6 separate regions of the Homo sapiens genome follow, and regions 1, 2, 3, 5 and 6 are each linked to region 4. Evidence: promoter capture Hi-C in 16 types of primary human blood cells and fetal thymus (Javierre and others, 2016). All regions are on one chromosome and are shown on one strand. Each heading gives the region's core, a stretch centred on a gene start or on the middle of the fragment in contact. The rest is flanking DNA. Distances are from core to core; before and after follow the strand shown.

Evidence for each region. The method cuts DNA at HindIII sites, captures the fragments that hold promoters and counts their contacts. A CHiCAGO score of 5 or more calls a contact.
Region 1: a contact is called between a fragment that was not itself captured here and the fragment with the promoter of MEGF9 in region 4, in 5 of 17 cell types (total CD4 T cells, naive B cells, naive CD4 T cells and 2 more). The highest score is 6.8, in total CD4 T cells.
Region 2: a fragment that was not itself captured here is called in contact with the fragment with the promoter of MEGF9 in region 4 in 2 of 17 cell types (monocytes and activated CD4 T cells); the score reaches 5.3 in monocytes.
Region 3: a fragment that was not itself captured here is called in contact with the fragment with the promoter of MEGF9 in region 4 in 2 of 17 cell types (total CD8 T cells and naive B cells); the score reaches 6.0 in total CD8 T cells.
Region 5: a fragment that was not itself captured here is called in contact with the fragment with the promoter of MEGF9 in region 4 in 7 of 17 cell types (naive B cells, total CD4 T cells, activated CD4 T cells and 4 more); the score reaches 7.3 in naive B cells.
Region 6: a contact is called between a fragment that was not itself captured here and the fragment with the promoter of MEGF9 in region 4, in 5 of 17 cell types (monocytes, total CD4 T cells, erythroblasts and 2 more). The highest score is 10.2, in monocytes.

The regions. Positions count from the first base shown.
Region 1 is chr9:121,403,638-121,408,154 of GRCh38, forward strand. The region is part of intron 3 of LOC102723324 (a long non-coding RNA gene); the gene reads left to right. Among named protein-coding and RNA genes, the nearest start is that of STOM, 36 kb to the left of the region's middle. The HindIII fragment of the contact is 1,338 bases long and covers 1,550-2,887 here.
Region 2 is chr9:121,233,424-121,238,062 of GRCh38, forward strand. It overlaps a transcript of GSN not described here. Among named protein-coding and RNA genes, the nearest start is that of GSN, 32 kb to the right of the region's middle. The HindIII fragment of the contact is 1,077 bases long and covers 1,197-2,273 here.
Region 3 is chr9:121,337,489-121,341,822 of GRCh38, forward strand. STOM (stomatin) reads right to left here. Exons shown (of 7, transcript NM_004099.6): 7 at 1,499-3,920. The coding sequence ends at 3,714. Among named protein-coding and RNA genes, the nearest start is that of STOM, 31 kb to the right of the region's middle. The HindIII fragment of the contact is 674 bases long and covers 1,331-2,004 here.
Region 4 is chr9:120,711,975-120,716,209 of GRCh38, forward strand. MEGF9 (multiple EGF like domains 9) reads right to left here and starts at 2,496. Exons shown (of 6, transcript NM_001080497.3): 1 at 1,784-2,496. The coding sequence starts at 2,384. RefSeq lists a silencer at 2,184-3,033. The HindIII fragment of the contact is 2,825 bases long and covers 407-3,231 here.
Region 5 is chr9:121,355,760-121,360,162 of GRCh38, forward strand. It overlaps STOM (stomatin), which reads right to left. Exons shown (of 7, transcript NM_004099.6): 2 at 294-397. Among named protein-coding and RNA genes, the nearest start is that of STOM, 12 kb to the right of the region's middle. The HindIII fragment of the contact is 4,677 bases long and covers 1-3,755 here.
Region 6 is chr9:121,262,809-121,267,116 of GRCh38, forward strand. It overlaps a transcript of GSN not described here. Among named protein-coding and RNA genes, the nearest start is that of GSN, 3.2 kb to the right of the region's middle. The HindIII fragment of the contact is 6,397 bases long and covers 1-4,308 here.

The DNA.
Region 1 (4,517 bases), core at 969-3,468, 690 kb after region 4:
TTTTTGTATTTTTAGTAGAGATGGGGTTTCACCATGTTGGCCAGGATGTCTCCATCTCTTGACCTCGTGATCCACACGCCTCAGCCTCTCGAAGTGCTGGGATTACAGTTGTGAGCCACTGCGCCGGGCTGGCTATTATTAAAAAATAAAAATAAATAGATGCTGGTAAGCCTGCAGAGAAAAGGGAAACTTATACACTTTTGGTGGGAATGTAAATTAGTTCAGCTACTGTGGAAAGCTGTTTTTTGAGTTGTGTGAGTTCTTTACATATTCTACATACCTAACTCATCAGGTAAATTATTTGCAAAAGTTTTCTCCCATTTTATGGGTTGTCTTTCCACTTTGTTGTTAGTATTCTTTGATACACTAAAGTTTTGTATTTTGATGAATTCTAATTTATTTTTTTCTTTTGATTGTGCTTTTGGTGTCATATCTAAGAAACCATTCCCAGCTGTGCATGGTAGTGTGCGCCTGTTGTCCCAGTTACTTGGGAGGCTGAGGCGGGAGGATCCCTTGAGCCCAGGAGTTTGAGGTTTTAATACTGTACTGTAGTGAAACAGTGTATTATAGTGAAACAGCATAGTGAAACTTTGTCTCTAAAAAAAAAAAATTCTTTTTAAAGAAATAAATCTTTGCTAAATCCAAGATAATCATTTATTCCTATATTTTCTTCTAAGAGTTTCATAGTTTTAGCTCTTATGTTTAGATTTTTTATCCATTGTGAGTTAACTTTTGTAAATGGTCTGAGGTAAGGGCCTAGCGTTATTTTGTGGGACAGTTTTCTTCTTGTGTCATTTGTAATTTTATATTTTTCTAAAATAATTTCTATTTCATCCATATATTCAAATTTATTAAAGTTGCTTATAATATGCTTTGTTAGCTTTTAAATATCTGTATTATTGGTAAGAGTAGCTCCCCCTTTTTATATGATACTGTTACTTGTGCTTTCTTTTTTTCTTGTCTAATTTTGCCAGTGGTTTGTCAATTTTATTAGTCTTTTTAAATAGAAACCACTACTAGCAAAGAAATAGAACATTGTCAGTCTTTCTTCTTTTCTGAGCACTGATGATGCTCTAGACCTTGGCCTAGATAGTTGGGTTTTATTTGTTTGTTTGAGACAGGGTTTCACTTTATCGCCCAGGCTAGAGTGCAGTGAGTGCACAATATTACCTCACTGTAGTCTTGACCTCCTGGGCTCAAGTGATTCTCCCACCTCAGCCTCCTGAGTAGCTGGGACTACAGATGTGCACCACCACTCTCAGCTAATTTTTACATTTTTTTGTAGAAACAAGGTCCCACTATGTTACCCAGGCTGGTCTCAAACTTCTGGACTCAAATGATCCTCCTGCCTCAGCCTCCCAAAGTGCTGGAATTACAGGTGTGAGCCACTATTCCCAGCCATAACTCGTTTTTGCTACATATTACTCAACTACATATTACTCAACTAATGTTTTTGCTAAACATTACTCATTCATTCAATACATATTTTGAGCACCTACTATGTATTGAGGATACATCAGTGAACAGACAGGAAATTCTGTTCTCATGAAGCTTACATTCTGGTCGGGGAGATAGATAATAAATAAAATAAGTAAATTACATAATATTTTAGTACCTTAGAAGGGATTAAGGGCTGTGAAGAAAAATAACTGGAGAAATGGATAAGGAGGGAACAGACTACTGGAATTTTTAAAAAAATGGTAGACATGTAAGACCTCATTGAGGGTACATATTTTTTAAAAATTAGTTTGAAATAATTATGTGTTTATGGGAAGTTACAAAGATGATTCAGAGAGTTCTATTAGCCTTCACTAGTTACCCCTAATAGTTGCATTCTTGTGTAACTATAGTACAGTATAAAAACCAAGAAAGTAGCATTAGTATAATGTGTGCTTATAGTAGTATGCCATTTTATCACACATATAGATTCTTGTACCAATACCACAGTCAAGATACTGAACTAGGCTGGTAGCAGTGGCTCACACTTGTAATCCCAGCACTTTGGGAGGCTGAGACGGGTGGGATCACTTGAGGCCAGGAGTTCAAGACCAGCCTGGCCAACATGGTAAAACCCCGTCTCTACTAAAAATACAAAAATTAGCCAGGTGTGGTGGTGTGCGCCTGTAGTTGCAGCTAGTTGGGAGGCTGAGGCATGAGAATTGCTTGAACCCGGGAGGCGGAGGTTGTAGTGAGCCAAGATCGTGCCACTGCACTCCAGCCTGGGTGACGGAGCCACACTCTGTTAAAAAAAAAAAGATGCAGAACTATTCTGTCCTCACAAAGATATTCCTTATGCTATGTTATAACACAAAGATGTCTTTATAGTTCACCTTACTCCCCTCACTTCTACCATCACTAACCCCTGGCAACCATTCATCTGTTCTCCACCTCTCTAATTTTGTCATTTCAAAAGCATTATATAGATGGAATCATACAGTATATAACCTTTTGAAACGATATTTTTTTCACTCAGCACAATGCCTTTTTGGTCTATCTGAGTTCCTTTCTTTGTGTATTCCATGATGTTAGTATACCACAGTTTGTTTAACCATTCACCCATTGAAGGACATTTTGGTTGTTTTCAGTTTCTGGCTATTACAAATAAAGCTGCCATGAGCATTGGTGTGCAGGGTTTTATGTAGATATAAGATTTCTTTAGGATAAATACTAAAAGTGCAATTCTTGGGTTGCATGGTTGTATATATTTAGTTTTTTAAGAAACTGCCAAAATACTTTTCAGAGTGGTTATACCATTTTATCAGTAATGGTGGGATGAGAAACGTTGTTTCTCTGCATCTTGCCAGAACATGGTATTGTTATAATTTTTTATTAATATTTTAGCTCTTCTAATAGCACCTGGCTAATCTGAATTTATATCAGAAATGAAAGCTTAATTTTGATTAATAAAACCAATCGATATAATTCACTTTATTAAGAAATACTGGAAAAAGTTATTTGATCATCTCCGTGGACACACAGTTTGATGAAATTTACCAAATATTCATGATAAAAATTCTTAGCATACTAGAATAAAAGAAAATTTCCTGCCAACTAGGTCAGGACAAAAATGAAAAAAAAAAAAAAAAAGAAAAAAGAAAATTTCCTTGGTACAATGAAAGGTATGTACAATGTAATACCTAGAGCAACCACTTAAAAAAATCTATATGAAGAGATACACTCGAAAACACTATCAATAAATCAAAATGGAATTCTGAAAAATGTTCAAGTAATCCACAGAAAGGCAAGAAAAGAGAAACAGAGGAAACAAAAAAACAAAGGGAACAAACAGAAAAGAAAAAATAAAATGTCAGACCTACGCCCTAACATATCAGTATTAATAATCAGTGAGCTCTGGACTCTCTTCTTTATCCCCTTTGCCGCTCAAGGTTTTCAAAAGCACCACTCATTCTCTTAAAGGACTTTTATTAAATAGGCAGATGACCCCAGGGGAAAGGTCATCTCAAATGCCGGGCTAACCCTCCTGAGCCTCTGTCTTTCTGGCTCAGTAATTACCCTCCTGGCTAAGTAATTCCAAAGAGTTATGGTAGATTTCTGATGTCACAAAGAAAATTTTTAAAAAATACTTTTTTCAGCTTTGTTTTAGGGCCTCAGCCTTAGATTGTATTTCCTAGTGCAGTTTTTTAAAAAAAAAATCGGTGACCTCTCTCATCTAATGCTTTCTCTGTTCTTGTAGATGCTTTACTTTTTCCCTGTCATTTTGATGAGATTTGGGGCAAGACCATGGAAAAGGATGTAAAGATGGCACAGGCTCATTATTCCCTGAGCTTCTATCCTCTAAGATCCTAGGCTGGGAATTCTACGTAATCTTGTTAGCTCTGTGATGTCCTCAATTGGTAAAAGAGTTGGATCTTATTTCCTAGACTAGAGATTGACAAATTATGGCCTGTGGTCTGCCTATTTTTGCATGACCCATGAGCTAATAATTTTTTGCTTTACATTTCTTAAACTTGTTTTTGAATAGTTTTAGATTTACAAAAATTTGTGAAAATAGTAGAGTTCCCATATGACCCACACCCTATTTCCCCTATTATTAACATCTTACATTAGTATAGTACATTTGTCACAATTAATGAGCCAATATTGATGCATATTATTGACTCAAGTCTACACTTTTGATTTCCTTAGTTTTTATCTAATGTCCTTTTTCTGTTCCAGGCTCCCAACCAAGATTCCTCACTATGTTTACTAATCAAATCTCTTGAGACTCCTCTTGGCTTTGACAATTTCTCAAACTTTCCTTGTTTATGATGACTTTGACAGTTTGAGGAGTGTTAATAACTGCAAAGTTTCGAGGGCCTACAGAATGTCTCTCAGTTGGGATTTGTCTGATGTGTTTATCAAGAACACACTAAAGTTATGGGTTTTTGGGTGGAAGACCACAAAGATAAATTGCCTATAATAGACTCATGAGACTGTCATAACAAAGTACCACAAATTATGTGACTTTCAAATAGCAGAAATTTATTCTTTCTCACAGTTCTGGAGGCCAGAAGTCT
Region 2 (4,639 bases), core at 485-2,984, 520 kb after region 4:
CACTGCACTCTAGCCTGGGTGACAGAGCGAGACTCCATCTAAATAAATAAATAAATAAATAAATATCCAGGCTATTCTGCCAGGCACACAGAATAAGACCACTGAGGCACAGGAGGTCAAATAAAGATGCCATCTTTGATGTCCAGTCCAGTTAAACCTTCAGATGGTTCCAACCCCACCTAGCAACTGGCTGCAACCTCGTAAGAGACTCCAAGCAAGAACCACTGAGCTGAGCCCAGCCAACTCATAGAACCATGAGAGATAACAATATTTTACTATTTAAAGCCACAAAGTTTTGGAGTGGTTTGTTGTACAGCAACAGATAGCCAAAAGAGACCCTAAAACCTATAGCTAGCAAGGCCTAGAGTCTCAGGACAGGAAGTCTAACATTTGGAGAGCAGATGTTAGGTGTCACCTTGAGCAATTCCACCCCTTCGTTCCTGAAGCAATTGTTTCGATTGGAATTCAGTTTGCCTTCACTGAGCAACAGAAAACCCCAGACAATAATGCCTTGAACAAATCGAAAGTTTCTTTCTCTCACAAAAGTCTGGGTAAGTGATCCAGACTGGAATAGTGCTCTAAGATGTCAGGGACCCTGGTTCTTTATGCTTTTTTTATGCAATGCATGACCTAAGCCTCGTGGGTCAAGATGACACTTCAGGCAATAGGACAGAGGAAGGGATGCAAACACAAAGGGTGCTTTCTCCTGTAGAAGGTTATTTAAAGCCACCACATGTGGCTTCTTCTTGTATTCCATTGGTTAATATGTATCTCACGGCCGTGCCTAGCTGCAAGGGAGACTGGAAAATGGTATCTTGATTTTGGGTGGCCATGCACCCAGCTCTAAATTCTACTACTTCTAGTAAGAAAGGCTATTGGGAGACACTTTGCAGTGCCTGCCTCACTGCTACATCTTGAAAAGTAATAGAGAGACACAGGAAATGGCATCACATATGGGATGCTGACTCACAGCACCGATCCCTTCCGGAGGGGAGCAAGCAGTTATCTCCCCATGGGCACTGTGAGCCTCCACAAGGCCATTCTACTGTGCTATAGGAGCCAGCTGCTCCTGGGTCATGGGTGGGGTCTGTTAGGTGAAGAGTGAATCCCACAGGCCTTAAGTCACTGCCACTTTTGCCATGAAGTGAATTCCTTGATAAGAGGGAGCATCGTGTGACATACGATGACTAGGTAAAAGCTTCTATAAGCCCTCAGGCTGTGGTGCTGGTGGAGGCACGAAGGGCAGGGAAAGCAAATCCAGATAAAAAATAAATGTAGGGTTGGGCATGGTGCCTCATACCTGTAATCCGAGCACTTTGGGAGGCCAAGGCTGGAAGATCGCTTAAGCCCAGGAGTTAAAGTCTGCAGTGAGCTATGATTGCATCACCATACACTAGACTGAGCAACAGTGTGAGACCCCGTCTCTAAACAAATAAATTAAATAGTTAAATAAATAAATGTAGGACATTGCCATGAGAACAATTTGGCTGTTCCAGATGGAGTTAGTTCCCAGCTGAGAAACAGGGAGGTGTGGGGCAGAAGGAAGAGTGTTAGCTTCCTTCCTTCTCCATGAGAGGGAGGCGCAGAGGAAAGGCTGCAGACCAAGATGGTTAGTGGGTAGGAATTCTCCAAGTTCTCTCGCAAGCCCCAGATATCACCATCCTTTCCTAAAGGAAACCTGGCAAAGTCATGCCGTTGGCTGTCACTGAAATTCAGCAACTCCCCGAATCCGAGTTTGGCTTTAGCAATCTCGCACCCATGGCCCCAGTGAACAGTTTCCATCTGGCCAGAGAAAAGTCGTGAGTTTCACTTTGTGCCTTGTGGCAAACATCTCAAGACGTGAGCTTGTCCTTATCCTAAATCAAGATACCTGATGCTTTCAGAAGCAGCCACCCTACTGGTTTCCACATCTTTCATCTCCCTTTTAGGTGGCTGAGAATTTTAGCTTCAGCTTGTCCAAAGTCCCAGATTACCCAAAGAGATTATGTGCTTAGCCACTGTCTTCCAAGGGCTGGTCGTTCCTATTCTGGAAGACAATTAGGATTCTCAGTGCCTCTCTCCCTGTCCAGCTCAAGAATCATGGATCACTTGGAGGAAAAGCTAAGCTCCTGTAATAAAAAGGCAAACTAGAGTAGCCTATTTCCCCTTGAGGTGAGTGGCCCAGAGCAGAAGGGCAGCTTTGGTTCTTTGTCGCTCATTCTTCCCCAGGGCAGTGTTCTCTTCTGCATCGGTGCAGCTGGGTTCTGGCTGGTGGGAAAGAAGACAGTGGAGAAAGCTTGCTGGTTATCTTAGAACCCAGGCCCGGAAATGACACGTGACTCCCACTTCATTCCCCTGGTGAGAATTCAGGCACCTGGCCACCCTAAACACAAGCAAGGCTGGCAAAGACAGTCTAGGGGGACAGCCATGTGCCTGGCTCCTATTATACTTAGGCAAAAAAGTAGAATGGAAAGCCTTTTGGTGAACACCTAGCAGTCTCGGCCACATATTCCAAATAGCTCTTATTTCCTTGAGGGTCTGAATGAGTTTTCTAGGACTGCCATAACAAAGTATCATGAACTGGGTGGCTTAAAACAACAGAAATGTATTGTCTCACACTCTGGATGCCTGAAATCTGAAATCAAGGTGTCCACAGGACCACATTCCCTCTGAAGAGGCAATGGAAGGAGCTGTTCTCCAGACCGCACTCCTAGCACCTGGCAGCCACAGGTGTTTCTTGGTTTGTGGCTGCCTCACTCTAATTCTCTCTTTTTTTTCTTTTTCCATTATTTAACATGTTGTTGTTATTGTTGTTTGTTTGTTTGTTTTTTCCCCAAGACAGAGTCTTGCTGTGTTGCCTAGGCTGGAGTGCAGTGGTGCGATCTCGGCTTACTGCAGCCTCCACCTTCTGGGTTCAAGCAATTCTCCTGCCTCAGCCTCCCAAGTAGCTGGGACTACTGATACACGCTACCACGGCCGGCAAATTTTTGTATTTTTAATAGAGACAGGGTTTCACCACGTTGGCTGGTCTCGAACTCCTGACCTCGTGATCTGCCCGCCTCAGCCTCCCAAAGTGCCTGGATTACAGGCATGAGCCACCATGCCCGGCCAACATGTATTTTCATTTATATCCAAATATCACATTTTCTACATTAAAATTATACTGACTTCCCCCGTACCCTACACCCTAAGAGAAAAAAAGAAAAGAAATTTACACAATTTGAAAGGTAGAATGCATGGAGTAGGGAAGTTGCTATTGCACCTGAGTAACAAAGAACAGAGAGACCAAACAGTCAATAAGGCACAACTGCATAGAAGACAGCTCAGGGCTTGCATCAGGAAGGAGCAGGAATAAAACTCCAAAACTTCTAAGTGCCACCACCTGTGCCACAACATTACCCTGAAAAGGCAGAGGTAGGTCCGAAAGCAGAACCAAATCAGGGATTTTCCAAAGGCTGCTTCCTAACAGAGATTAAAATATCCACAAACATGAGAGCCTTTGCTTCTCACCTTGCCTTCAGCATCTGGTAAACACTTTAGAAACTTAAACCACTGTTCACATGTCAGAATGTAGAATGGCTATAGGTTTTTCTTTCTTCTTTTGTTGTACCCCAAGCAACCACTCTATTAATGATTTTAGTCATGTGATTCTTCTGCATGGAAACTCAGTAAAGGTCACCAAAGACAAGGCTTTTCACTGCTATCAGATAAATATCAGCTGTGCAAAAGTTGCAGGATTTTGTGTGTTGCTCAGAGAGGGAGAGCTGTAAGACACAGGAATCTCAATGCATATGTAATAAACAGGAAAAGGAAATTTCTTTTGCTCATCTATTTATTGTATAAGAAAGAGCAAGTAGGCAGTCAAAATCATCTGCTAGGCTAGGGGTGATGTCTCATGCCTGTAATCACAACACTTTGGGAGGCCGAGGAGGGAGGATCACTTGAGCCCAGGGGTTCAAGACCAGCTTAGGCAACATAGTGAGACCCTGTCTCTACAAAAAGAATTAAAAAATTAACTGCATGTGAGTAGCACATGCCTGTAGTCCCAGCTACTTGGGAGACTGAAGTAGGAGGATTGCTTGAGCCTGGGAGCAGCTGTGCTCACACCACGGTACTCCAGCCTGAGCGACAGAGCAAGACTCTGCCTCAAAAACAAACAAACAAACAAAACCAACCAACCAAGCAACCAAAGAAACTATTTGCTTAGAGCAGCAGCACAGAACCACAGGCACATCAACAACCCAAAAGAAAATGCTCAAGAAAGAGCATCTTGGCTCTTTTGAAAGGAGTCATCTTTTAGACCTGATCTTGCCCCTTTAATTTAGAGACCAAAGCATTATAACTCAGAGGCTGATACTCTTGAGGAGGTTGAGAGGTAAAGTCCAAGAGACCCAGATAATGAGGACATTATTAGGTAACTAACTATATCACTGTGTACAATGCAAACATCAATAAGAAAACGTCACCTGCATCCCTGCAGCTACTTTTAGCAAAGCACTGAAGACCCAGGTTTTCTGAATAGGGAATAGTTTGAAGTCTGTTAGCAGTTTAAAGCATTCAACACTGGAACAATATGTTACGTATTCTTTGTTTTTAATTATAGGTTAACACGGTAAACTCCAACACAAAGATGAGGCTAGGGGAGTGCTAAAGGAATAAA
Region 3 (4,334 bases), core at 418-2,917, 620 kb after region 4:
AATAAAAACAGACAAGCAAAATGGAGAAATCGAATGTAGACTCTGAATATAAGATTGGAACTCTTTCGTAACTCTAATATTGTTTTTCAAAACAGCCTCATTGTTCTCATTGAGTTACTTTATATTCAGTAAATGTTATAAATGTGAACTCAAGAATTTATCCTGGCAAAAGACACCGTAAACCTTTTACTGATGCAGTTACCTTTGAAAAAAGGGGTTTGCTGCTGAAAGTAAGAGGAAGAGGCACTTGATTCACTATTTACTAGCCAAGTAACTGTGAGAGCAGGTTTGTGAGTATCACAAGAAATGATATATTTTAAAATGCTACATAAGCTGAGAGTCTATGGAACACTGGTTTCCTCCTGCTCAGGACAGTGTGTTATGACATTTGTGGTTACAAATGCCCAATCGGGCCGGGTGCAGTGGCTCACACATGTAATCCCAGCACTTTGGGAGGCCGAGGTGGGCAGATCACCTGAGGTCAGGAGTTCGAGACCAGCCTGGCCAACATGGTGAAACCCCATCTCTACTAAAAATAAAAATACAAAAATTAGCCGGGCGTGGTGGCATGCGCCTGTAGTCCCAGCTACTCAGGAGGCTGAGGCAGGAGAATCGCTTGAACCCAGGAGGCAGAGGTTGCAGTGAGCCAAGATCACGCCATTACACTCCAGCCTGGATGACAAGAGCGAGACTCCATCTCAAAGAAAAAAAAAAAACAAACAAATGCCCAATTGACTCTCCTCTTTTTATAGTGAACTTTGGCTGAATTGGATGGCCCAAAACAAAAGTTTAAGTTTAGGGCCCAGTTAGGTGTGAATGTAAAGACAAATGAACTTTGATAGTCTTGGGAAAAGTTGTGATCTATCTACAAAATGGTGGTGGTGGTGTGTGGATGGGGGCACTAGAGGCAGGCAGTGTCACACGAAGATACACTGATACACCTCACAAATCTTTGGCATTAGACAGATCTGGGTTTGAATCCCAGCTCTGTTTCTTTCCGACCATGTGACTTTGGCTGTTTTAACCTTTGAGCCTTCAGTGTCCTCATCTACAAAATGGTGATAATAAAGTGTCTATCAAACCATTTTGAGATAAAATGATAGAATGTACATACACGTATTTGTGCACAGAGCTGAGTGACTGGTGCTCCCAAATGGTAGCCACTAATTCAAGACAGTTCTGTCAGATGTTGCAGGTAAAACACATTGGTTTTTTATCATTATTTGTTTCTTTTTAAGTAAAGGCTATGTCTATGTGATTAACTGGGTGACAGCAAGAAGTGGGTTCCTGTCCTGTTTGGAGGAAGGCAAAAGAAAATGAAGTCAGTTAAAGCTTTGTGGTGGTGGTGGAGGGTGTGTGTGGATCTTGAAACTCCCCAGGGAAAATGTGTGGGCCAGTGCACCAGAGGGTGCCTGGACCTGGGAGACAGCAGATGGCCCACAGCAGCCTGTCCCCTTCCCCTGGCCCACAAAGCACACGAAGAAGCCAACCAGCCAGCTCAGAACCGGAGGATCTAATGTACTACTTCTGAAAACGGAAATCCACAGACATTCAATACAGGCCGAAACAGACTCTCACCCCAAAAATATTAGTGAAAGTGCATACACTTTATTATGTACATTGTTGGAAAGGGAGGCCACCTGGAGAAACTTCTGCACTGGCACTGTGTTCCTAGAGCTCCTTCTATGCGTCCCTCCCAAGTGATTTAATTTCAGCTGATTGGACTACGAATTCACAAGGCAGAAAAGTCAAGGTCATTTGGTATCTGGAGACAGGAGAACTCAAGGAACCAAAAGCACTGTTACTCTAAGTCTCAGAAAAGGTTTTCAGTCAGGATATGGAGGCTCCTGGTCCTCAAGGGTGAACCACTTCACACAACAGATAAAACCATCATTTTAAAATTCAAAATGTAAGTGCAACTTGAGTTTAAGTTGCACTGCTCCATACCTCTAATAAACTCAGCTAGGAGCCAGGATACATGGTAGTTCAAGGCTTCCTAAAATAAGCTTGAAATTGGGGTACAGGGGAAGGGACATCCATTGGCTGGATGGACAGAGTGGTTGAGCTAAAGAGAGCTATAAAGGCTCGTGCTGGGAAAGAAAGCTGTTATGCTTAGACTTCTCTAGGTGAACTCAGAGTCTCAAAGAGGAAATGTTACAAATGTCACCCGCCAGCTTTCTGGCCAGTAAGCAGAATGCCAGGTTGCTCAGATTCACAGACATTTGCAAAACAGAAGATGTCTCCTAATATTATAGACTAAGAATTTGTTGTCCAGAGGAGCTGACCAGTTCCTCTTTCAGCATCAATATACATGATAGAAGAATGACTAGGTAAATTTAAAAAGACCTACATCTATATAGATATTGTAAGTTTGACAGTATCTGCCCAAGATCATTAGACACTATATAGTCAATATACTGTGAATTCCTTATACTATGTAATGAATGGGTTTGTAATCAACATATTTCACAGTGTACCACAGTTAACAGCATGCAGATAGTAAAATATAATGGTTTCCTGAAGTTATCTCTTAAAAAAGTATTTTAGTCCTTCAGCTATTCAAATAGATATATAACAATTGCATATAGAACGTAGAGAAAATTTTATTAAAAAATTAAAACTATTTAAAACCTGATATATGAAAATAGGCAACAGTGAGAAAAAAGCACTTTTGTGACAAATATTTAGCTGGTTTGAAAGACAGAACAAGGAGGAATCATTTACTCATAAAGAAGGCTCAAATAAGTTAAAACATGGATGTATTTTTAAAATGACCACTCTAGTAGTGAATTTAAAAGTCTTTTAAGGGTTAGAGTAATCTTTTTCATTAGTCTTGGCTATTTCCTCTAGTTCTGACAAGTACAGGCAAGAAAATGGCTACTCTCAAGTAAGGATTATTCTGAAACACGGTCTGGATTTAGAAAATAAATGAACATTAGGGAAATTTCCTTAATTAAGACTCTCCAAACCAGGTGTGGTAGCTCATGCCTGTAATCCCAGCACTTTGGGAGGCAGAGGTGGGTGGATCACCTGAGGTTAGGAGTTCGTGACTAGCCTGGCCAACATGGTGAAACCCCGTCTCTACTAAAAAACAATAATAATAATACAAAAATTAGCTGGGCATGGTGGCATGAGCCTGTAATCCCAGCTACTGGGGAGGCTGAGGCAGGAGAATCTCTTGAACCCAGGAGGCGGAGGTTGCAGTGAGCCGAGATCATGCTATTGCACTCCAGCCTGGGCAACAAGAGTGAAACTCCATCTCAGAAAAAAAAAAAAAAAGACTCTCTGGAGGTAAGGCACATATGACCTGGAGAAGCTGGTTGTGGTGTAAGGTCATCACTTTCTGCAAAGCATTTAGCCAGTCAGCGGTGTCAGGTGGCAGTTACAGCCCAGGTTCTTGCCTCTGGCCTGGGTGCTTAGGGGGTTCAGAATGAGTCAGTGGAAGTCAAAACAAGAGGGATCTAACCTACTACATAATAATCTAAAAATACAAACTTTTAACTATTTTAAGACTAACAGATTACCTTATATAAATCACCAATCTCTCAGTATTTACAAGCTAACAATTCTTTCACCTATTTTTATAACTGCTATACATTCTGGGAACACCACAATTGACATATGGAAAAAGAAAAGCCCTACCCTCTCTTTATGAGTTAAAGGCTAATTTGGTCCCCGACTTCATGCTTGGAAGGCTAGCGCTCATCTCTACACTAGCCTAGATGGCTGTGTTTTGCCCCTATGATTCCTTGCAGCATATCTATGGGCAGAGGGAAGACAATTGTTGAGTTTTTCTCAGCAGCAATGGTGGTCAGTGTCTGCAGGTATCGGAGCTGAAGGGCTGCAGGAGATTCAGTGATGACCATGGAGGCTTCTTTCAGAGCCCTGGATGCATTCATTTCTCCTTCGGCTGCAATAACCTATGGACAGGTGAAAGGAGGGGTTGAACTGGAGAAAACCTCATGGGGACACACAGCACTCTTCAACCGGGGGTATGTATACCTCAGGTGGTCCACAAAACTTTCTAGGGCGTATGCCAGAGTAGTTTTAAGAAAATCAATTTCTACATACTCAGTTTCCATATGCTTCTTTTTCTGAAACTGACTTGCCTGACTAGTGCCTGGATCAAGACATTCTCTTTTACTATAGCCTTTCTCCCATTTTCCAGGGTAACAAACAAAGGGATAATTCAAAATACTGTGCAGGATTGAGAAAGCAAGTAACTTTAATGACTGCAGGCAAATCCTTTTGCAAGTCAGCAGCATTTCCAATTCTCTGATGAGTACCTTACTAAACTGAAAGCTGACAGGTCATTATAAATATTTTTTGATGAA
Region 4 (4,235 bases), core at 1,246-3,745:
GGCCTGGTGAAGTGAATCATGCCTGAAATCCTAGAACTTTGGGAGGCCGAGGCAGGAGGACTGCTTGAGTTCAGGAACTCAAGACTAGCCTGGGCAATATAGTGAGCCCTCATCTCTACAAAAAATACAAAAAATTAGCTGGGTGTGGTGACCCACGCCTGTAGTCTCAGCTGCTCAGGAAGCTGAGGTGGGAGGATCGCTTGAGCCTGGGAGGCAGAGGTTGCAGTGAGCCAAGATTGTGCCACTGCACTTCAGCCTGGGCAACAGAGCCAGACCCTGTCTCAAAAAACAAAAACAAAAACAAAAAAAGTCTTCACAGCAACCTTATGAGTTAAGTACTACTATAATATTATCTTCATTTCACAATCAAAGAAACTGAGTCCAAAGAGCTTCAGTGAGCCGCCTAAGCTTACACAGCTAACAAGGGGAAGAGCTAGGATTCAAACCTAAGAATAAACTCCAGAGTCCATACTCTCAACCACTATGCTTCCTGTCTCTCAGTAATATGTCAATCTCTCTATATGAAAGCCAAAAGGGGTTACAGGTAAAACCCAGCTAGCTAATGCATTCCTTGAAGCTGGAAGAGATGCACACTTGGCTTTTTATGGGTGAATAATCCTACTTATGTCATTGCCAAGCTCCAACCCAAGGATCAAGACTGTATTAAGGTTCATAACCATGTGGGAAAATTCTCTACACACTCAATTATAGTCCAAAGTCCATACCTGACTCCACAGTAAATCACTAAGCCTAAGATTTAGGTCAGAGACCCAGCTAGACAAAGGATTTGGACAAACCTCCACCCCAACTCAAAGCAAGACAATTCAGAAACTTTTGTCCAAACGTTCTGACAAAGTAGGCTTTTGTTTTGTTTTGTTTTAGTCCTAGGCCCACTTAAGATTTAAACGGGGAAAGAATACGAGTTGTCTTTAACTTTGCTTGAAGACTTCAGCAAGAAAAGCCTTTTCTACGTGGGCTCAAACAGAAATTGGCATATATCAGCATCAGCAAAGTTGAACATCCTGGCTTAAGGAGACAAAAATAGGCATCCTTGCTTAAATGGTGTATTTGGCCAAACATGTTGACCTTATAATTGTGGAAGAAAAAAATGGTGCGAGGAAGAGATTTAACCTAATTTGTAAATGTGCTCAGCCTAGATACACACCTGTCCCAAATGACCTACTGAATCCACTTATTTGCAGGGACAACATGGATTACAATGCCTTTTTTGTTTTTATTTTTTGCCCTCAAGTGGTCCATACTACTGTTTGTAAACAAAATCCTCTCACTACCTCTCTTCCACCTGTCATACACACACATCTGATATTTACATAAACAAGAAGAAATGAACAGGGAAACTGGAGCTTTGGGAGGAATTCCTTACCCTCAGCTTTTGACCCAGTGGTTGAAGGAGGTACTATGCGGGCTTTCAAACTTCCCCAAATAACCCAGGCAGAGAGGCTGGGTGCGCGAACCCAACCCAAAAGTTTGCGCCCATTCTGGTCTCTGAAAAAGGCCAGAAAGCCCTGTTGGGAAGAAGATGAGATGCCTTCCACCCAGCAGCCACCCCCTCCCGAGGGAGCACAGCCCACGGGGGACAAAAGACTTTCCAGATTGATCGGGGGCGGGAGGGAGACTAGCTGGACCTGGGATCCCCCCTCGGGAGCCGGAACCTGGGGTGTCTTTGGGGTAACAAACGATAAATTATAGGCAAGAGCCCAACCCTAGATTGCCGGGGCTGAGGTGAGGACGGGTCCTGCCCGAGAGGGAGCGCCGGACTCACCTGGAGGAGGCGAAGAGGGGGCCTCGGTGGCAGGTGGGGTGGGGAGGACGCTGCTGTTGCTGCTGCTGGGGAGATCGGGGGTCGGGGTCCGGGGAGTCGTGGGCGCCGGTACGGTGGTCGCTACAGGGGTGGTCGGCGCCGGGCCAGTGGTCGTCGAAAGGGTGGTCGGCGCGGGTCTGGTCGGCGCCTGAGAGGTGGTCGAAGTGCGTTCCGCCGCCGGAGGGGTGGTCGGCGAGGGGCCGAGCGGCGCCTGAAAGGTGGTGGAAGAGGGTCCAGCAGTCGCCCAAAGAGGGGTGGTCTCCGGGGACTGGGCTGGAGAAGTCGCAGCCAGGGGTCGGTGGACGGTGGCGCGCGGGGGCCCGGTCCTCGGGGCCTGGGCCGTGGGAGCCGTCGCCCTAGGGAAGGGGTGGCTGGGCTCGCCCCGCAACCCGGGGCCCGGCGACGCGTCCACCTGCCCCGCGGCCCCGCCGCCACCGGTGACATTCCCCGCCGAGGCGGCTGAGGCGACGGCGGCGGCGGCGGCGGCGGCGGCGCAGCACAACAGGGCGAGGCCGCCCAGGCTCGGCAGGCTCCTCATGGCGCGCTCGGCTCCGCCATTCATTCATTCAGCCAGTCGGTTGGTCAGTCATCTTCTCCTCGTTGCAATCCGACCAAGGAAGCCTCCGCAACCGCCGCCGCCACCGCCACCGGGCGCACCATCGCCACCTCCCTCTGACAGGCGGCCGGCCCCGCGGGCGGGCCCCAGCGCGGAGGGAGCGACCGGACCGAGCGCGGACCGCCCGCCCTCCTCGATTGGCAGCCGCGCCTAACCAATGGGAAGCCACAGTCGCCCACGTGATCCGCCCGCTTCCCGGCCTCTTTGTAGCCCCGTAGGCCAATCAGAGGACGTCCAGGAGAGGGGGCGGTCCGTGAGGCGGGAGAAGGGTGGTGCGAGCCCAGCTCTAGCCCGCCGGGCTCGCGGCGGCCCCGGCTTTGTCTGCCCAAAGAGTGGGGCGCGGGCCTCGGGCACCGGGCGCCGCGGAGCAGACAAAGGATGCGCCCCGCGCGGCAGACGCCGGGCCTAGTCATCTGCTCCACCGGGCTGCGAGCACGAGCGGGGGGTGGAATCAGCACTCGGGAGCATCCCCGCCCTCCTGAACAATGGGGCGCCAGCGCCGCACCCCAGCTCGGGCGGGGACCGCGCGGGAACCCCGCGATGGGAGAGGGCAGCGGCAGCGACGATGTAGAGCTTGGCATGCCCTCTGCTGCTCCAGAGAGCCTGGTCGCAGCCTTGCGAGGTCTCTGCCGCCATTCCCATTTCAGAGATGGGGAAGCTGAGGCCCTTGCTGAGGGCCTCCCTGAACCGAGACCCACGCCCTCACCAGAAACCTGCTGTGGGCCAGGTGTTGTGCCAGACTGGACAAGGGGGCGGGACCGGGCGGTGGAGACCCCTGAGGGCAGAAGGTGCAAGCTTCCTGCGTGGAGGAGACAGGCTCGCAAGCACACTTACCTAAACCCCGGGAAGAATAGGATCAGACAGGGTTGAACCTCAACTTGATGTCTTTTGCTGAATGGTTTTGTGGCCTGAGCGCGGTTTTTTCACCACTAAAATGGAGATGATAGGACACCCCTCACCCCCCACCCCCCTCACAGAGCTGTTGTGAGAATTAAGTCATGGACGTAAAGGGCTTAGCCCAGAGCCTGGCCCACTGTTGTAACCCTCATTAATGCTAACTATTCTCAGCATTTGCGCCAGGGCAAGCCCAGGATTAGAAAGCAGCCCCAGGCCACAGCCCTTCAGTGCCCCCAGAGCCTCCGGCTGGTTGCAGGGGTTGGGGTGGGGCTAATAGCCGAGCTTGACCCTGGATGACACTAAACCCTGAATCAAGCTGGAATTCGGGCACGCAGCCTCGCATCATCCGCCCAGGATCCAGAGCTAGGTCAGGCGCTGCTGCTTCGGCTCAGCAGCTTCCAGAGGAAGCCAGGCAGGGCGGGTTTGTCATCTGATGGGGCTTAATTCAAGCCCCACTGCTAACCCAATCCCGGCCTCCCCTACGTGATGTTTGGCTTTGTGCATGGTTTCCCATTAGTCATTGGTCTTCAACCAGACCAGCAGGATGAGATTTATGTGTGAACCCGTGTATGTTAATTAAAGCATGCATTTATTTTCCTGCATGAGTAGTGGGTGGGGGAGGCTGTGTATGAATGCATAAACATGTTTGTGAGTCTGTGTGTATGAGTGTTGTATGTATCTGTGTGAGTTTATGAGTATGGGAGCTAGTATCTATTTTCATATATTGTGTCTTAATAATCTGTGCATGTGTACTGGTGTGTGTTTTTGTGTATTTTCTGTGTTTTTGCATTTGTGGTTATCTATGGGTGTGTCTTGATAGGTCTATGTATATAAGACAGCGGGAATGAGGGAGAATGTGAGTGTTCTGTCTTCAGGACCAATATTTAGCAAGCACTAACC
Region 5 (4,403 bases), core at 167-2,666, 640 kb after region 4:
TAACTCTGAAGAACTTGTTCTCTCAGAACCATCTCACATCCCTGGCCCCAGGAAATTTTTGATGGTGAAACTTACTTTAGCCCACGGGGAAGGGCAATGGCTGAAAAGAAGTTTTAAGGTTCCATTTTAATAGGTGGGTAGAAGAATAAATTTTCCAAAGAAAGATGAAGAAATAAGAATTATAAGAGAGAGAGACAGTCTGTTTCTTTCTCACATACACACAGGCACACACGAAGTAGGTTTATGGAGGTAGGAGTTGACCCCTTCCCAGAAGTGAATGAAATGTTCTTTACCTTTATGCACATCCATATTGAGATTGGGAAAGTTATAACGGTGAATAAGAATGAGAACGCCACCAAAATCCATCCGCAAGGTCCAAGGCCCTTACTGGGGCTGTCTGTTGAAAACAAAAAATATACAACTCTCACAACTGTTACTAGCATAATCACCACCATCTTCATCCTTACCATTCGCTGAATACCTATGTGCTTGGCACTACACCAGCTGTTTTACATGAATTTCCCCATCTAATCCTCATACAGCCCTGAAGTGTAAGTACTACTTTCCCTTATCTATGTGATGTCATAACACAAGTATATTTCCACATTACTCATTACTTTATTCAGCAAACATTTATTAAGCATCTACTATTTATTAGGCCCTCTGCTTTGTACTGAAATGATAACAATGAGTAAGACCCAATCCCAGCTTTCAGGGTTAAAGTTTAGTGGGAAAGTCAGACAAACACATAATTATAATATTAGGTGGTAAGTACAGATATAGAGTATCTGTTCAGAATATTTTGAAGACACAGAATGAGTTAACTCACGCAGTTAGGATGGAGGTGAGAAAGGAATGGGGCGGGGAGGTGATTCAGGTGGCTGTCAGAGGGTTTCCTGAAGGATGTAATAGTAAGAAAATATCGACGAAAAGAAAGTGGAGGCTGGGCGTCGTGGCTCACGCCTGTAATCCCAGCACTTTGGGAGGCCGAGACAGGTGGATCACTTGAGGTCAAGAGTTCAAGACCAGCCTGATCAACATGATAAAACCCCGTCTCTACTAAAAATACAAAAATTAGCTAGGCGTTGTGGTGAGTGCCTGTAATCCCAGCTACTGGGAAGGCTGAGGCAGGAGAATTGCATGAACCCAGGAGGTGGAGGTTGCAGTGAGCCAAGATTGTACCACTGCACTCCAGCCTGGGCAACAGAGGAAGAATCTGTCAAAAGAAAAGAAAAGAAAAGAAAAAGGAAAGAGGGAAAAGGCATTAGAGCATTTTAGCTAGGAGTACAGTACGAATAAAGGTGAAAACCATATGATATGAGTATAAAGTTGTTTAGAGCCTCTTTTTAAAAATTACACCTGTAAAATATTTCACTAGGTTTATGCAGCATCATTTATTGCCCACTTCCTGATTACACAGGTTGTTTGATTTCTTAGTGCTATAAACAGTGTTGTAGTGAACATCTTTGTACACGGCTTTCCTCTCACATTTCTAATTGTTTCCTGTTCCTGTAATATGCAACAGCTTTTCCGTCTGATTACAAAGGTAATAATGCAAAAAATTCACAGAAGTATAACAAAGGAGGGAAAAATTACTTTAAATTCAGAGGTATTTTGGTATATTCTTTGAAAATTTTCCTAGTGTACACACCATATTTTTAAATGATATATATATATATATTTATTTATTTATTTTTTGAGACAGAGTCTTGCTCTGTTGCCCAGGCTGGAGTGCAGCAGCACAGTCTCACCTCACTGCAACCTCCACCTCCTGGGATCATGCGATTCTCCCGTCTCAATCTCCTGAGTAGCTGGGATTACAGCCACCTGCCACCACACCCGGCTACTTTTTGTATTTAGTACAGATGGGGTTTCACCATGTTGGCCAGGCTGGCCTCGAACTCCTGACGTCAAGTGATCTGCCCACCATGGCCTTCCAAAGTGCTGGGATTACAGGCATAAGCCACTGCGCCCGGCCTTAAATCATATTTTTAAAAATAAATAAATAAATAAAATGTGTAACCTATTTTTCTTCCCTGTAGCTATTCTCTTTCACCTTCTTTTTTGGCCTTCGTGGTTATGCATTTGTGTTTTTGAAGTTACACTTGCATAAAGTTTAAAAAGTCAAACCATTCTATATGATTAGTACAAAAAAAGGGCATTCCCATGCTCACCTCTTCCAATTTCCTCCTCCTCAAAAACATTTGCTATTTTGACCATTTTGATATCTACCTCCATATTTCTAAATAATACGCTTTGCAGCTGGGTGCAGGGGTCACACCTGTAATCCCAGCACTTTGGGAGGCTGAGGAGGGAGGATCCCTTGAGCCCAGGGGTTTGAGACTAGCTTGGGCAACATAGGGAGACTCTGTCTCTACTTTAAAAAAAAAAAAAATAATAATAATAATATGCTTCTGCCAGGCATGGTGGCTCACGCCTGTAATCCCAGCACTTTGGGAGGCCGAGATGGGAGGATTGCTTGAGCTCAGGAGTTTGAGACCAGCATGGGCAACCTAGTGAGACTCCCATCTCTACTTGAAACTTCTTAAAAAAAATTAGCTGTGTGTGGTGGCACACACCTGTAGTCCCAGCTACTGAGGAGACTGAAATAGGGGGATTGCTTGAGCCTGGGGGTTCGTGGCTGCAGTGAGCTGTGATGTACCCCAGCCTGGACAACAAAGTGAGGAAAGAAAGAAAGAAAGAAAAGGAAGGAAGGAAGGAAGGAAATGCTTGTTTTGTTACTTCTTGCTTTTTCAGTTTTGAGGACTATTAACTTTCTACTACAGAAAAAGATTTAGTTCTCTTTCCTCCCCGTTACCCCCACCACATACTTATACCCAGCTTTCCAATATAATTACATCATAACTTCATTTAGATCAATATGAGATTTTATATTATGAATTTGTAAGTGCAATTTAAAGCTAAGCCAAGTAGTGAGGTATCACTGGTTTTCTCTTCCTGTACTATTTTTGTTTTTTCTGGAATTACTGTCTTATTTTTTCCCTTTGTTCGGTTTTCAACGTACTTATTGATCCAACCTTAAATCAATTGCCTAAATTTCCTCTCAAAGAGGTCAGGTATACTATCAATTTTATCTTCTGGAAGAATTCTCTCTCAGAGCCTTGTGTGGACTTCCTTCATCTGGTGTGCACGGCTATCATTCTGCAATTGCTTTCACTATCATCCTGGGAACTCCCATCACCTCAGTGTTGTGTTCCTATTTTCTGTATCAAGTGTCATCCTCATTTTTAGTTTGCTTTTGCTTTCTGTAGAGGACATAGGGACTGAGAAGGCCAAGGGATATAGTAGGTTTTCTTATCAACCACTTGGAAGGCTTCTGCTGTATTTTCAGGAGCTATTTTAATGACAGAGGGGAGAAAAGGTATGCCAGGCACATGTTACTGCTCAGAAGAAAGGGCAAAATGGCAGTAAGATGGGGCTTGGAATAAATAGGAGGCCAAGAAATAAGCAGAGTGTTCAGGCTGGGAACATGGGAGAAGAGAGACACATGTTGGCACCCAGGTCAAGTGCTCTAAAACATAGGATGAAAAATCAGAAATATAGTGAGTACTTGGGTTGTATGTGACTTGGTAGTTTTCTGATCCTGTGTTATAGTGTGAGGTAAATGTCTTCATGTATACTTAAATAAAATGATCTAAAGTAATCCTGGAGGTTTCTAAGTTATAATTTAGGGGGTACAGACATATTCATTGAGAGAATATTCAAAGCAGGGCCATAGTACTGTTTGTGAAGAAAGCTTTATCTAGTATTACCATGACTGATCATAGCAACAGTGGCTGTTTTGAGGGGTTGTGTATACCCCAGGCATTTTTTAAAGTTACTTTAGACATGTATCTCATTTAACTCTTACAACAGCCCTGTGAGGGTATTTTTAAATCCCTTTTACAAATGAGTTACCTAAAGCAACATTTAACTTTCCCAAAGTCACACAATGGAAGACCTGGGACTCAAATATGGGTCATCTTACTCCAAAGCCCGTGTTCCAAATTCACCCCTCAATAAAAAAAATCCTCATTAAGAATGTTTTCGTGGTTGAGCACTTTCTCAAGACAGTATCCAAACTGAAAAGCATGGCTGGAGTTGTGAGAATGAAATCTGATATTTTTACAGAGGAAGTCCTCTTAATGCCAGCCATGCCTATTTATAGCAAAAGATAGTTTCAAGGCTCTGTGACAGACACAGGTCTAGGTTTCCAGGGTGAAATGAATTCCAAACAAGGACAGACTGACCACAAATACTTATTTATCTGACAGCATTTGGTGCCTTTTCAAATACTGTCCAAGTCTCCCATAACATACTAGAGTAAAAACTCCCTGAGGGCAGGGATGTTGCTTATTCACTTTTATATTCTCAATGTCTAGCACAGTATCCTGCATAGTAGA
Region 6 (4,308 bases), core at 1,549-4,048, 550 kb after region 4:
GAATAATGGCTCTTGAAATTCAAAGAGCAACCCTCTCTTGAGTCCTCCCGTAGTGTCCCCAATCACTCTATCTGACCAAACCCATCTGTGGTCACTTTCCTCATTCACCAATTCATTAATCCAATAAAAACGTGCTAAACATCTGCTCTGTGCCAAGCACTATTTGACACTGGGATGATGTCGGAAAACCAAGCAAACACATTTTCTCCTTCCACTGAGCTGCCAGTCTAATGAGATATACACATAAATGGACAATCTGAATGCAGTGAGTCGAATGGGGGAAGCCCAGGTTTTGAGCAGTGGTGTGCTGGTAAATGTTAAACGAAAGGCTCTTGGTGGAGGGAGAAGGAAAACCCTGATTTATAGCCTTTCCTGATCTCCATGGTGTAAATATTCCCACCGTGGGGACTGGGCTACCAGCATGATGTCACTGAGTGTGGAGTTGCGAGTAGAAATGCAATTGCACACAATTATACAGTATTTCTACCATATAGATAAATGGTGAAAATAAGAGCACAGATAATAGTGAAATATAGTAAAATAATTATGAAGTACTAAGTTTTGAGAATTTATTACCTCTATTTATGTATTAGTCATTTTCACACTGCTATAAAGACATACCTGAGACTGGGTAATTTATGAAGGAAAGAGGTTTAATTGACTCACAGTCCTACATGGCTGGGAGGCCTCAGGAAACTTACAATCATGGTGGAAAGGGAAGCAGGCAAGTCTTACGTGGTGGCAGGAGAGAGAGTGTGTGAAGGAGGAACTGCCAAACACTCCTAAAAGAATCAGGTCTCGGCTGGGCAAGATGGCTCACGCCTGTAATCCCAGCACTTTGGTAGGCTGAGGCAGGTGGATCACCTGAGGTCGGGAGTTCGAGACCAGCCTGACCAATATGGAGAAACCCCGTCTCTACTAAAAATACAAAATTAGCCGGGCGTTGTTGCGGGTGCCTGTAATCCCAGCTACTAGGAGGCTGAAGCAGCAGAATCGCTTGAACCTGGGAGGTGGAGGTTGCGGTGAACCGAGATTGCGCCATTGCACTCCAGCCTAGGAACGAGAGGGAAACTCCATCTCAAAAAAAAAAAAAAAAAAAAATCAGGTCTCATGAGAACTCACCATCATGAGAACGGCATGGGGGAAACTGCCCCCATGATCCAATCACCTCCCTTCCACCAGATTCCTTCCTTGACACATGGGGATTATGGGGATTACAATTCGAGATGAGATTTGGGTGGGAACACAGAGCCAGACCATATCAATTTATAATTTACTTAATTATAAGTTTATATAGATTGTTATTGAAGGCTGTGCTTAATACAGCCTTAATACAGCTGGGTGTAAGAATGCATGGAAATTTGGCCAGGTGTGATGGCTTACTCCTATAATCCCAGCACTTTCAAAGGCTGAGGTGGGAGGATCTCTTGAGCCCAAAAGTTTAAGACCAGTCTGGTAACATAGAGAGACTTCATCTCTACAAATAACATAAAAATTAGCCAGGCCTGGTGGGATGTACCTGTGGTCCCACCTACTTGGGAGGCTAAGGCAGGAGGATTGCTTGAGCCCAGAGGTCAAGGCTGCAGGAAGCCATGTTTGTGCCACTGACTCCAGCCTGGGTGACAGTGAAATCTTGTCTCAAAAAAATCCACAAAAATTCATGGAAATTGAGCAATCAGTTCGTAAGAAAACAACACTAAACACACTAAATCAGTTCTTAAGAACACAACACTAGCACAACACTAAAGGGGACCGAGGCTGGAGAAAATAACAGTCTCCTTTCCTTCTTCCAGCTCTGTCTTTCTCTGACCTCCACACCTTTGCTTATTCTGTGCTCTTAGCAGAAGATGCTGTTCCCTTCCTCACCTCCACTCTTATTCTTTCCATCCTTTCAAGGCTGACTGAATCCAAGCCGTTGTCTCTGCTTGGCTTCCCCTCCCCTTTTCTCTGGGAAGTGCACCCCCTCCACCCACAGGTTACAGTGGGAGCAGCCAGGTTTGTGCAGTAGGACCCTGTCACTCGGGCCAGAGTTAATTAGATAAAGGGTAGGCATCTGATCCAACTTAGAATGTGGACTACAAACAAAGATTCCAGCTTGCTGCTGGTAAAAGCCATTTTCTGGAAAGCAGAAATGCTTGTGTGATGTGAGCAGACAGGCAGAGATGAAAGATGGGGGAGAGAGTACTTTCTGGGTTCCCTTTAGTACTCAGGTCCTGCTTGTGGTCTGATCCTGAGGCCCAGCTGCACCCCTGCCCTAGTGTTCCATGGGATATTTCAGGATCTCCTGAGAGTGCTCTCTCAAGTAATCCCTTGTATGAAATCCCTGTCTCATCCTCTGCTTCTAGGGACAAACTACAAGGCATTCGATGCTCAACAAATACTTGTGCTGATAACTTCTCTTTCTGAAGCCAGCTCCAGGAGAGGTCTGTAATCAGAAGAGCCCCTGAACCCTGAAGCCTCCTGGGCTGCCCAGCCCAGGCATCTCCTCTGTGAGTTTTGCGACACCCTTCTAGTCATTTAACGAGCCTCATTGGCTTTCTCTGTGAATACGATGGAAGATGGCCACCTCAAAATGGCAGCCTTGGCCTTCAGAGATCATTGGTCCTCACAGACCCAGTTAATTAACCATGATTGTCATGTCTCAACTTCCAGCTCCAAATTCTAATAGTCCAGCTTTTTTCTGCCGTCCACTCCTCATGCTGTCAACTGTGTTGTGGGGGAAGGTTACAGTACAAACCTGGGTGCAAGTGAGGGCCATCCCCTTGGGTGGGAAGAGGCGTTCTCAGAGGAGAGAGCAGGTACCCCCAGATTGTCTAATGCCTGGCCTGTGTGTGGCCTTCATTTCTCCCCAGCCTCACTCTGGGAAGGAGGTGGTCTTCTGGCAAAAGAAGATATCAAAGTTCTTCCATCAGAGGAGATCCTTATCAGCAAGACATTCACTCTGAGGTGAGGATCCAGGACAAACAGGCCTTACCTTACCTAGATCCAATGGGGGGAGAAGTACAAAGAGGTATCTAGAAAGGAATGAAGACAGGATACCAAGAAGACTTCTAGGCATCCATGAAAGGCAGACTTGATATATCCTGCCAGCTATAAAATACACATGTTGAGTCATAAAGCAAAGCACCAGGAGATTTCTAGAAGTGTTCCTAGAGGAGCACTCCCATGTAAGTATTGGTTATCATCATCACAATCATCATCAATCAATCATCATCATCATTATCTTCATTATCATTTCTAATGATTCCTGGTGATACCCTGTTCCCATGTTCCTCTCCAGCCACCAAATGGAGCAATTACAGGGTTATGGGTAGGCATCTGACCCAGCTTAGAATATGGAACCTTAGATCTAGCTTAGAATGTGAACCCTTTTGCTCTCCTGGCCTCAGTTTCTCCATCTCTAAAGGGAGGAGTTGGAGCAGACATTCTCCAATGTTTCCTCCATCGTGATGTGGTATTCTCCAGTTCTATGGGGACACAGATTCAGAGTTCCACCTCCCTTTGTCTGAGAGCAGTTGCTGGGGCTGGAAATGATATGTTAGATAATTCCAAGGCATGTGTATGCCGGGGCTTGTAATCAAAGATTCCAGAGCCAAATAAGCCTGTGTTTTTGCTTTTCTCCCCAGCAGCCTTGCATTGGGCCCCAGGCAGCCTCTGGAGAAAGCAGAGAGTAGCAGAGATGGTGTGAGCCTCCCTGCGGGGTGGATACCTTGCTTGTATTCTCAGAGAAAGTGGAACTGGGCAGAATTTCCCAAGCCAGGAAAGGTGGCAGAGTGTGACATAAGACATTGAGCAAAGAAGCGAGGGCCAAGGACTCAGGCATAGAAGAGTAGACTGCACAGTATCAGTAGTGTGACCTCCAGAGAGTACTTAACCCTTTCTGTGGGCTTGGCCTGCTCATCTGAAAAATACACATGGTAATGCCTCCCTTAGGAGGCCAGGTAGGGAGGTGAGAATTAAAGTCGGTAATACGTGGGAAGCCCAGAGCATGGCATGAGGCATTCAAGAAATGGTTCTTGTATTTACTGGTGTTGAACAAAGAGAGAATGGCAGGAGGAAGAGCCAGGGTGAGATTCCCTGGGTCCTGTGGCTTCCCTGGCTGCTATTCAATGGAAAAACCAGGGAGTGAGCACTGTGCTCTTGGCTTCTGTGCTACTTAAACAACAGCCTTTTCTGCTCTGATCCCCAGCACCCGGCAATTACTGACTCTAGTACATTTTACCTTGTGTTAAGAGGGAGCTTTACCCTGGCTGAACATGGGGCTGCTGCCAGCACCCAGGCTGGGAATGGACATCTCTGTCATGTGGT